Linked DNA regions of Homo sapiens: regions 1 and 2 are each linked to region 3. Evidence: promoter capture Hi-C in 16 types of primary human blood cells and fetal thymus (Javierre and others, 2016). All regions are on one chromosome and are shown on one strand. Each heading gives the region's core, a stretch centred on a gene start or on the middle of the fragment in contact. The rest is flanking DNA. Distances are from core to core; before and after follow the strand shown. Region 1 overlaps NR6A1 (nuclear receptor subfamily 6 group A member 1). Region 2 overlaps ARPC5L (actin related protein 2/3 complex subunit 5 like). Region 3 holds the start of SCAI (suppressor of cancer cell invasion).

Region 1 (2,700 bases), core at 106-2,605, 380 kb before region 3:
CACTCCAGCCTGGGAGACAGAGTGAGACTCCAACTAAAAAAAAATAAATAAATAAAAATAAAAATAAAATAAAAGCCAGCATGAGAGAAAAGAAAAAAGTCACTTGCAATTCTAAGAGTGGGTCTTTTTGGCTCTCTAATCAATAAAAGTTGAATTCTGGGCCTCTCCAACATAGATAAATGCCCCAGATTCTCAGGTTTTTGCTTTTAGGCAGATACTATGCTTGGCAATTTACAGACCTTGTCTCTAATCCTTATAACCCTACAGTCAATTTCAGAAATGTCAGAGTATATTGGAGAAGAGGGGATGTTAAATCTATGAAACAAATTATTAATGCTGTTACTAGCTGCGAAATCTGGAGGTTTAAACTCTGTGGGTCTCAGTTTTCTCCTGTAAGATGGGGATAACAGAACACCTACCTCAGAGTTAAGACGATAAATATACATAAGGTGTTTAGATTATAAACACTATGTAAATGTTAGCTATTAATGTTAAATGAGAACACTAAAGTTCAGAGAAGTCAAGTGACAAAGTCGCATAGCTGTGATCTTTGTTAGGCCACACTCCAGAGTCCCTGCTCTTTGCCTCACACCATCTAACCAAAATCCTTCCTCCCTGGATGGGACTACTATTGCCATTTCCAAAAAACAAAGCCCTCTAAATGCATGTCAATGGGGGGCTTCCCCCAGGTGGTTTATTATCCTGCTAAAAAGGCATCTTGGGGGAAGGATTCCAAGAATAGAGAGAGGAAGTCTCCTGACAGGTTAGACTTCAAGGGTACAGAAAGAATATGGAAGAAAAAAGCCAAATCTGTCTCAGTTATTAGGTTTCGTAATTAAAGCAATTTAACTCAACTGAAGAATGCAATTGAAGATTTCACATGAATCTTCAAATCCAAACATTAAGAAATAAAAGAAAGGCTTGTATTTTCTTATAACTAAGCTGCAATCCCCACAAAACACAAAAATGTTTTCAAAGGTACATTACATGAAACTCCAAGAATATCAAGATAATTAGAGCTCTTAGGAAGGAAGCCCAAATAATTATCTCACTGATCTTTCAACACCTATCCAAGCTTCACCTTGAGTTCTGATGCGGTAACTCCTTATTTGTTATTCACATTGTTATGTGACATTTCTTCAGCCAGCAAGCCCACTACAGGATGAGTTCTACCTAGTAACTACCCTAAGGAGTAAATTTCTAACTCTTTAACAACACAGTAATTGACTTACACTAAAATGTTACTCACACTAGGAAAGGATATTCTTCGACCAGAGGAAGAGATGCCTCTCCTATACAGACTTTATTACCATCTCAGTGAAAACCAGGTTAAAAGCAAACCAATTTACAAAACTGCATTACCGAAATCACAACTCTAAGACTCAGTGAAGCCAAACATGTCTAAGGAAAGCAAATAAGCAAACTATTCTTGATGGAAGTTTTAAAAAGCACGATAGGATCTTTATCTCTTATAAATTGTTCATTATTCTATAGCAATGACTCTTAAGAAATTCTGTTGTCAGATTTATTTCCACAAATGTAAGTCTACCCTTGGTGAGGCAACTGGTTCTCTTGAAAAACTGCTGCCACAAGACAATTATCAGTTAAGCAACAGGTTTCATGTAGCAGGTAACAAAAGCTTTATCAGAGAACTCAGTGAGAGTGCACTACCACACATTTCATGTATTCCCAAGCAAAGAAAACTTAAAATGATATGAACTCATTTTCAATAAAAGTAGCTCAATTATCGAGGGAAGTAAGAAAACTCCAAAGTAAAAAAAGTACTACTAATGGTATCTGGTGAAGTCACCATCTTCTTTACACATTTCGTTAGTTCATTTAGACCTGGAGTTCTCATATATTTATGCCTGAGTGTTCTTCAGGATCCCTTTTACACTCTTAAAAATTATGAAGGACCCTAAAGGGTTGATATTTATGTGGCTTTGTCTATTGATATTTATCATACTGGAAAATAAACCTATGAAAAATTTAAAATATTTGATAATCCATTTAAATTTAATAAATTCACGTTAGTACAAATAACATTTTTATGAAAAATAAAATTGTCCAATAAAACATAAAAATTAGAAGAGTGGCATTGTTTTACATTTTGCTAATCTCCTTAATATCTGGCTTAATCCTAGCAGCTAGATCTCCTATCTGTTTACCCATTCAGTATATTGTGATTTTTTGTTGTTGTTGAAGCACAGGCAGAAAATCTGGCCCCACAGATTTATAATCGGAAAAGGAAGAAGTATTTGCTTTTTAAAGTAATTGTGGATAGTCTTCTTTGATACTACACCAAAACTCAATTAAGTGGTACTTTCTTAAAGGTTAGTTCAGTGTGAGTTTAAAACCATATCAATGAACTATGTGTAATCCGTTACATTAAAATCCATTGATCAATCTGGCATTTTGAACAGATCTCTTAGCTGTGTAGGATCCTGTAATATCACACATAGATCTTTTGGAAAATACTGAATTACTGAGATATTCAGATTTTCAAAATGTTGACACATTTCATAACATCGAAAATCATATTTATTTCATCATCCATCTCATCAGAAGACATTAATCATTGGGAAGCTGTCAAGCTCTTAGTGGCAAGTACAAGTTTTCCAAAACTAATTGTTGCTTGAAAGCTCAAATTTTATTTACTGGCAACCAATACTGTCAGTTTTCCTTGATATGACAGACTCA
Region 2 (2,700 bases), core at 103-2,602, 270 kb before region 3:
TGGGGGCAGGGTTGGAGGCCCATGCTGTACATAAATCAGGTTCTCGGTGTTGAACCAGTTGACTCAGCTTGGAAAGTGGGGCCTGCTGCTTTAGGGGGAGCCCGGCAGTGCTCCTGAGTGTGCCTTTAAACCGAAAACCTTCAGACTTGATTTGAACAGGAATGTGTTTTCCGAAGTGGAGATTCAAGCTTGTAATTCCTGCCCCATCAGGATCTCCCAATCCACCCTCCTTATGAAATGGGGTCAAGGGAAGGGTCCCCAGGAGGGAAGGTTGGTTGTAGTCTGGTGTAGGGCCTAGTTCATGGACAGTCAGTGCTGAAAGGGGCTCCAGGGTCAGGCCTTTGGCCCAGGACTCTCATTGAACAGATGAGATCAAGCCTGTCAGCTGCTGCCTTGGTCTGGGTGCAGAACCTTGTTGAAGGTCATGTCTTGGGACTCCCCTGCCTGGTGACAGGTTCCTTGAGGCTGCTTAGAGGCCTGGGCTTAGCACATCCAGGGGATGGTCGTTTCTCCATTCATGGCAGCGTCAGAAGCGTCAGAAACCTTGTTACCATGGAGAGTGCTCCACTTGGGGTTGGGGAAAGGGAGGTTAACGGATAAAGGTAACTGAAACCCTGGCAAATACGGGGCCCAGGTGGAGGAGAATGGAACTGATATTTATTGAGTCTCTATCATGTACCAAGAATCGGACTTATATTAGACCATTGAGGACAGGGGAGCAGGGAGAGGGATAGATGGATTGGGGTTGGGGAGGGCAGAGAGGGGCCCTGTCCTGGGGCTGTATAGGGAAGTGTGTGTGGCAGGAGATGACACAGATGGAGTAGAAGGAACCCGGCTGTGCATCTGCGCACACCCTGCACTACCATGCTCTGGCTCTGTGACCTCGGATAGGTCGCATACCCTTTCACAACTCAGCATCTTCTGTTACGTGGCGGACAGCCATGCTGGCTTCCTAGATTCCGTGGGAGCCTCATGGGCTAACATCAGCATCACTGGGCACACAGCAAGTGTCCTGGACATGCAGCTCGGGTCTGCAGATAGAGCGGCAGCATGGGATTGTGGGAGGAGCTTGGGTGTGAGGGCCGTGTAGACAGCTTAGTTTTGTGACCTTGCGCAGGTAATTTCTGTTCTCTGAGCCTCAATTCCATTGCCTTTAAAATGAGATAATGATTATTGTCACAAGGATTTTTGGAATGAGATGGCGTGTGAAAGCACCTGGCACAGGATCCGAGACCTTGTGGCGATTTAAAAGTATGAGTTCCTTTCCCCTTCAGTGAAGCAGCTTCTATACTTCTGGATCAGGGCTCTGTCCAGAGCAGTGGTTGTGAGCGATTTTGCACCCTTCCCCTCCACCCCCAGGAAACTGGAGACATTTTGATGGTTACAGCTTGGGGATGCCACTGGAATCCAGTGGGCAGAGGCCTATGACACACAGCTAAGATCCCACGTCAGAGAATCCTGGGTCCACAGTGTCAGTTGTGCCGTGATTGAGGAAGATCTAGAGGAGATCAAGGGCTGGGCAGGATTCCCTCAGCACCACAGCCTGTTCTCTGAAAAGGCCTAAAGCCAGCCAAGTATGACAGCCGGCTTCACAAATGATAGGTGACTTCAGGGAGGTCCTCCCTGCGCCCCACATCTCCCAACTGCTGAAGGCCCTCACCCATCAATGGGCCGAGTGATTGCTGGACGCGTGGTGCTGAGTTAACGCCACAGCAGTAGCTTTTTGCCCCCGTGGACTAGTTTTATACCTGCCCTTCCCCATCCATCATTTGAATGATGTCATTTGTTAGTTGTGCCAGGTTTACATGAAGAGCAAGTGAGCCTATGTTTTCTGTTCAGCCTATGGGATCCTGCTTATTGCTTTGGGGACACCACATTAGAAAAGAGTTACAAGGGCTGGGCGCGGTGGCTCACACCTGTAATCCCAGCACTTTGGGGAGGCCGAGGCGGACAGATCACGAGGTCAGGAGATCGAGACCATCCTGGCTAACACAGTGAAACCCCGCCTCTACTAAAAATACAAAAAAAATTAGCTGGGCGTGCTGGCGGGCGCCTGTCGTCCCAGCTACTCAGGAGGCTGAGGCAGGAGAATGGCATGAACCTGGGAGGCGGAGCTTGCAGTGAGGCAATATTGCGCCACTGCACTCCAGCCTGGGCGACAGAGCGAGACTCCGTCTCAAAAAAAAAAAGGAGTTACAAAGTAGAGGTTATCAGTGGCTGATATCAGGCTGGCCTTGTTTGGATGGGGAAAAGGAACTCCAGAACTGAAAGACAGAGGGACTGGACTGCCTCTTGAGTGTGGAAGGTGGATCAGAGCCAAGCAGGGAGCTGGGGAACCAGCGCTGGGAGTGGCTTGCCTGGTGGCGCAGACCCAGCTCACTCAAGATGGATCTCATACTGGGGAAGCCAGGAGATTCAGCTCTGCTCCGAAGGCCCTTCCTGTCTGCACGTGGGTATCACTGCATGAAGAGGAGTAGAGACCCGATTGGGCAGAAGCCATTCCTTGTTCTATTTTTGAAGCTTTTTGGCTGAAGCCAGTGTTTCATACGAGGAAATGAAAGTTGGCTGATGTAATTCAGTTTAAAATAGGTGTCACCTTTGGGGACCTAACCCAGATTGTAATTTTCTTTTGCATGCTGGGTATTCAGAACTCAGCAAAGAATGTGTTGTCAGGATTGCAACTGAGGTTGGGGGGTAAGG
Region 3 (2,700 bases), core at 37-2,536:
TCCTCCTGCCTCAGCCTCCCAAAGAGCTGGGATTGAAGGCATGAGCCACCCCAGCCAAGATGAGCTTTTTAAACAGAGATGCTGGAGAAAATGAAATTATGGCTAAGGTTAAAAAAAAAAATAGCTGAGATCCTTACACAACATCAAAAAGTAAAAAAGTAGGATTTCTCAAGATTTCCCACATTATCTTAGATACCAAGAAAAAAAAAATCGACTGTAGAGGTAGTAATTTGAAGTCCTCAAAAGAAAAATCATGCATGTGGTTATATTCTTTTAAAAGGGGGATAAATAAGAAACTTCATCTACTGACAGTATACAATTATGCAGTACGGCACAGGTGCAGCCAAGCAAAAAGAAAAACATGAAGCAAAATAGGAAGGCACTGCCTTACCTGCTTCTCCGTTTTCGAGGCGGTTTCTCCACTGTGCCAGTCAGTCTGCAGACCAAACAAATAAGACGGTAACTAAAAGTAACATACAAGAAAACATCTCCCGGCGCTACCGTGCCAGTCAAGAACTAAATAGACCACCCTCTGGGACCACAGGCTCGCCAAGCCCAGATCTGACCTTACAAACGCCTCATGCCCTGTTTCCCCTATTTACCAAGACCTAGCATTCCTGGGACTCACCGTTCCCCCAATTCCCCCTGAGCTCAAACCTTCCTGGTCCCTCACCCCATCCTCGACCCCTGCTCGTCACAGCCCAGCTCCCCAAAATCACCCACCTCCACCTACTCATTGTCTGCCTCGTCACCCCCGCAAGCCCCCCTAGCCTCCCCTTTCCTGTGCCCACCCGTTCCCGACCGTGCACTGCCCCCTCCACGCCCCGCCTCTCCGGGCCCGGCGACCCCCGCATTCCACGGCCCCTCCGGGGGCGCGCCCGCCTTGCCCCTCCCGGCCCCGCGCCGCCAGCCTCACCCCTCGGCGCCCCTTCCCTCACACGCCCCTCTCACCTGGCCTCGAGGAGGCGATCGCGCCCAGCCCGCGCCGCCGCCTGCAGGCGCCCCCAAGGTCCCCCCAGCCTGCACCCCCCGCCCCTCCGGTCTCTGCGCCCCGAATGCTCCACCGCCCCGAGCCGCTGCCCCTGGGCCCGCTCCCTGGCCCCCACCCCATCCCCAACCCCGGCCTCCACCCAGCCCCCGCACCTGGGGGCCAGGCGACTCCGCGGCTGCTGGGGCTGCCGGGCTCCTCTGACCATCCGGCTCCTGCTCCGCCGCGGGAGCTGCTCCGGCGGCCGCAGGGCTCGCTCGGGAAGCTGAGGCGGCGGAGGCTGGAGTAGGCGGAGAGGCGGGAGGAGGGCCTCGCGCCTCTGCCAGGCTTGCCGCGGGGCCCGCCTCCTCCGCGCCTCTCCTCGGCTCCCATTGGCTAGAGCAGTAGTGTGGACGGAAATCTGTCAGTCGATTGGACGCTCGGCCCGTCACATCCCGCGCTGCCCACCCAGAGGTTTGGTTGAGACTGCAGGTGGCGGCGGAGGTGCCTTAGAGATTGCTAGCAGGGCCGGAGGAGACCCTAGCGCCACCATGCGTCTAAAAGTAGGAACTGCACCCCCGGCTCCAGACACCTGCCCCAGGTTCTCCTGGCTCTGCGTCCTGCATACCACACACCTGCTGGCGCCCCTCCACCTCTGCACCACGCCAGGACCGAAAACAAGCCCTGAAATCTCCCAATTTCTTCTAGCAGGTGAGACAGTGAGGCAACTCTCACAAACGTGTTTCCTTTTAAGCCACCTCGAATGCGATCCTTGTCCCTACATCTTGCTGAAATTGTCTCACAGCTCACAGCTACCCCTCAAAAAGGACCCAGCCAGAAAACTCTAAGAATCCACCAAAATAAAGCATGGTTTGGATGCTCAATCCTCTGCAGAAAAGCTCACTAGCTTGGGTGCAGGCTTTTAAGAAAGTAAGATTTTTTTTTAATTACCATGAAAGAAAAATCAGCACTACAAACAGAACCAATGCCATACTAAAAGCAACGTGTTCCATTTTGAAAGGCCTGGACAAATTTGATCCCTGAATGGAAGCTGACCATCCTGATTGTGTGACCATTGCAAGTTCTACACCAATTAATCAATTTTAAAATAAATTGTACTGTATTTTTTGACAAACAGGCATGCAAAACTGCCTTTCATAAGCATAGTTACCCTTCTTCTGCTTTAACAAAGCCATCCTTGAAAATAAGACTCAGCTCATTAACGTATTATAAAATTCTTGAAGGTGGGAAGGCCTCTCTAAATCTCTACTCCTGTGTGAACTTGTTTGGTATATTCTCAGCATCTGTTCAGAGTTGGGAGGAGGCATAAAACTTTCTCTTAAGTCACTTCCATTTTATTAGAACATCTTTTATGCCTCAATAATATGACAGCGTCGAGTAGTACATGTCAACATTGGGGTGGGGAAAATCTCTCATTGATCTCCATAAGCGGCAAAAATTAGGATACTAGTTTTTCACAAAACCAAATGTATTTGGTGTAAAGAGTTGTCTTTTCTTCTGAGATGGTCCTACCTACATCTTTAATGGTAAAATGACTTTCCATTTATGAAGTAATACTGACGGTAAATTGTAGTAGGAATTGAAAAATTGCTTTGAAAAAATGTCAAATCTCTGTTGGTCCCCCAAATTAGTATTTCACGTAATCCTAAAGTCACAGAACCACAAATCACCTCAATCTCAACTAACAGTTTCCACCCATATTATCAAGCCAG

The links. The method cuts DNA at HindIII sites, captures the fragments that hold promoters and counts their contacts. A CHiCAGO score of 5 or more calls a contact.
Region 1: a contact is called between a fragment that was not itself captured here and the fragment with the promoter of SCAI in region 3, in 2 of 17 cell types (naive CD8 T cells and total B cells). The highest score is 6.2, in naive CD8 T cells.
Region 2: a contact is called between a fragment that was not itself captured here and the fragment with the promoter of SCAI in region 3, in 4 of 17 cell types (naive CD4 T cells, total CD4 T cells, erythroblasts and 1 more). The highest score is 6.0, in naive CD4 T cells.

Annotation. Positions count from the first base shown.
Region 1 is chr9:124,760,276-124,762,975 of GRCh38, forward strand. All of the region lies in intron 1 of NR6A1 (nuclear receptor subfamily 6 group A member 1), which reads right to left. It overlaps LOC124900274 (a long non-coding RNA gene), which reads right to left. Exons shown (of 2, transcript XR_007061773.1): 1 at 1-2,700. Among named protein-coding and RNA genes, the nearest start is that of NR6A1, 9.7 kb to the right of the region's middle. RefSeq lists enhancers at 251-806, 807-1,361. The HindIII fragment of the contact is 564 bases long and covers 1,074-1,637 here.
Region 2 is chr9:124,870,419-124,873,118 of GRCh38, forward strand. All of the region lies in intron 3 of ARPC5L (actin related protein 2/3 complex subunit 5 like), which reads left to right. Among named protein-coding and RNA genes, the nearest start is that of ARPC5L, 9.6 kb to the left of the region's middle. RefSeq lists enhancers at 428-477, 2,116-2,616, 2,314-2,543. The HindIII fragment of the contact is 2,332 bases long and covers 187-2,518 here.
Region 3 is chr9:125,142,242-125,144,941 of GRCh38, forward strand. It overlaps SCAI (suppressor of cancer cell invasion), which reads right to left and starts at 1,287. Exons shown (of 18, transcript NM_001144877.3): 1 at 1,144-1,287; 2 at 392-436. The coding sequence starts at 1,196. RefSeq lists a silencer at 906-1,405. The HindIII fragment of the contact is 9,654 bases long and covers 1-2,700 here.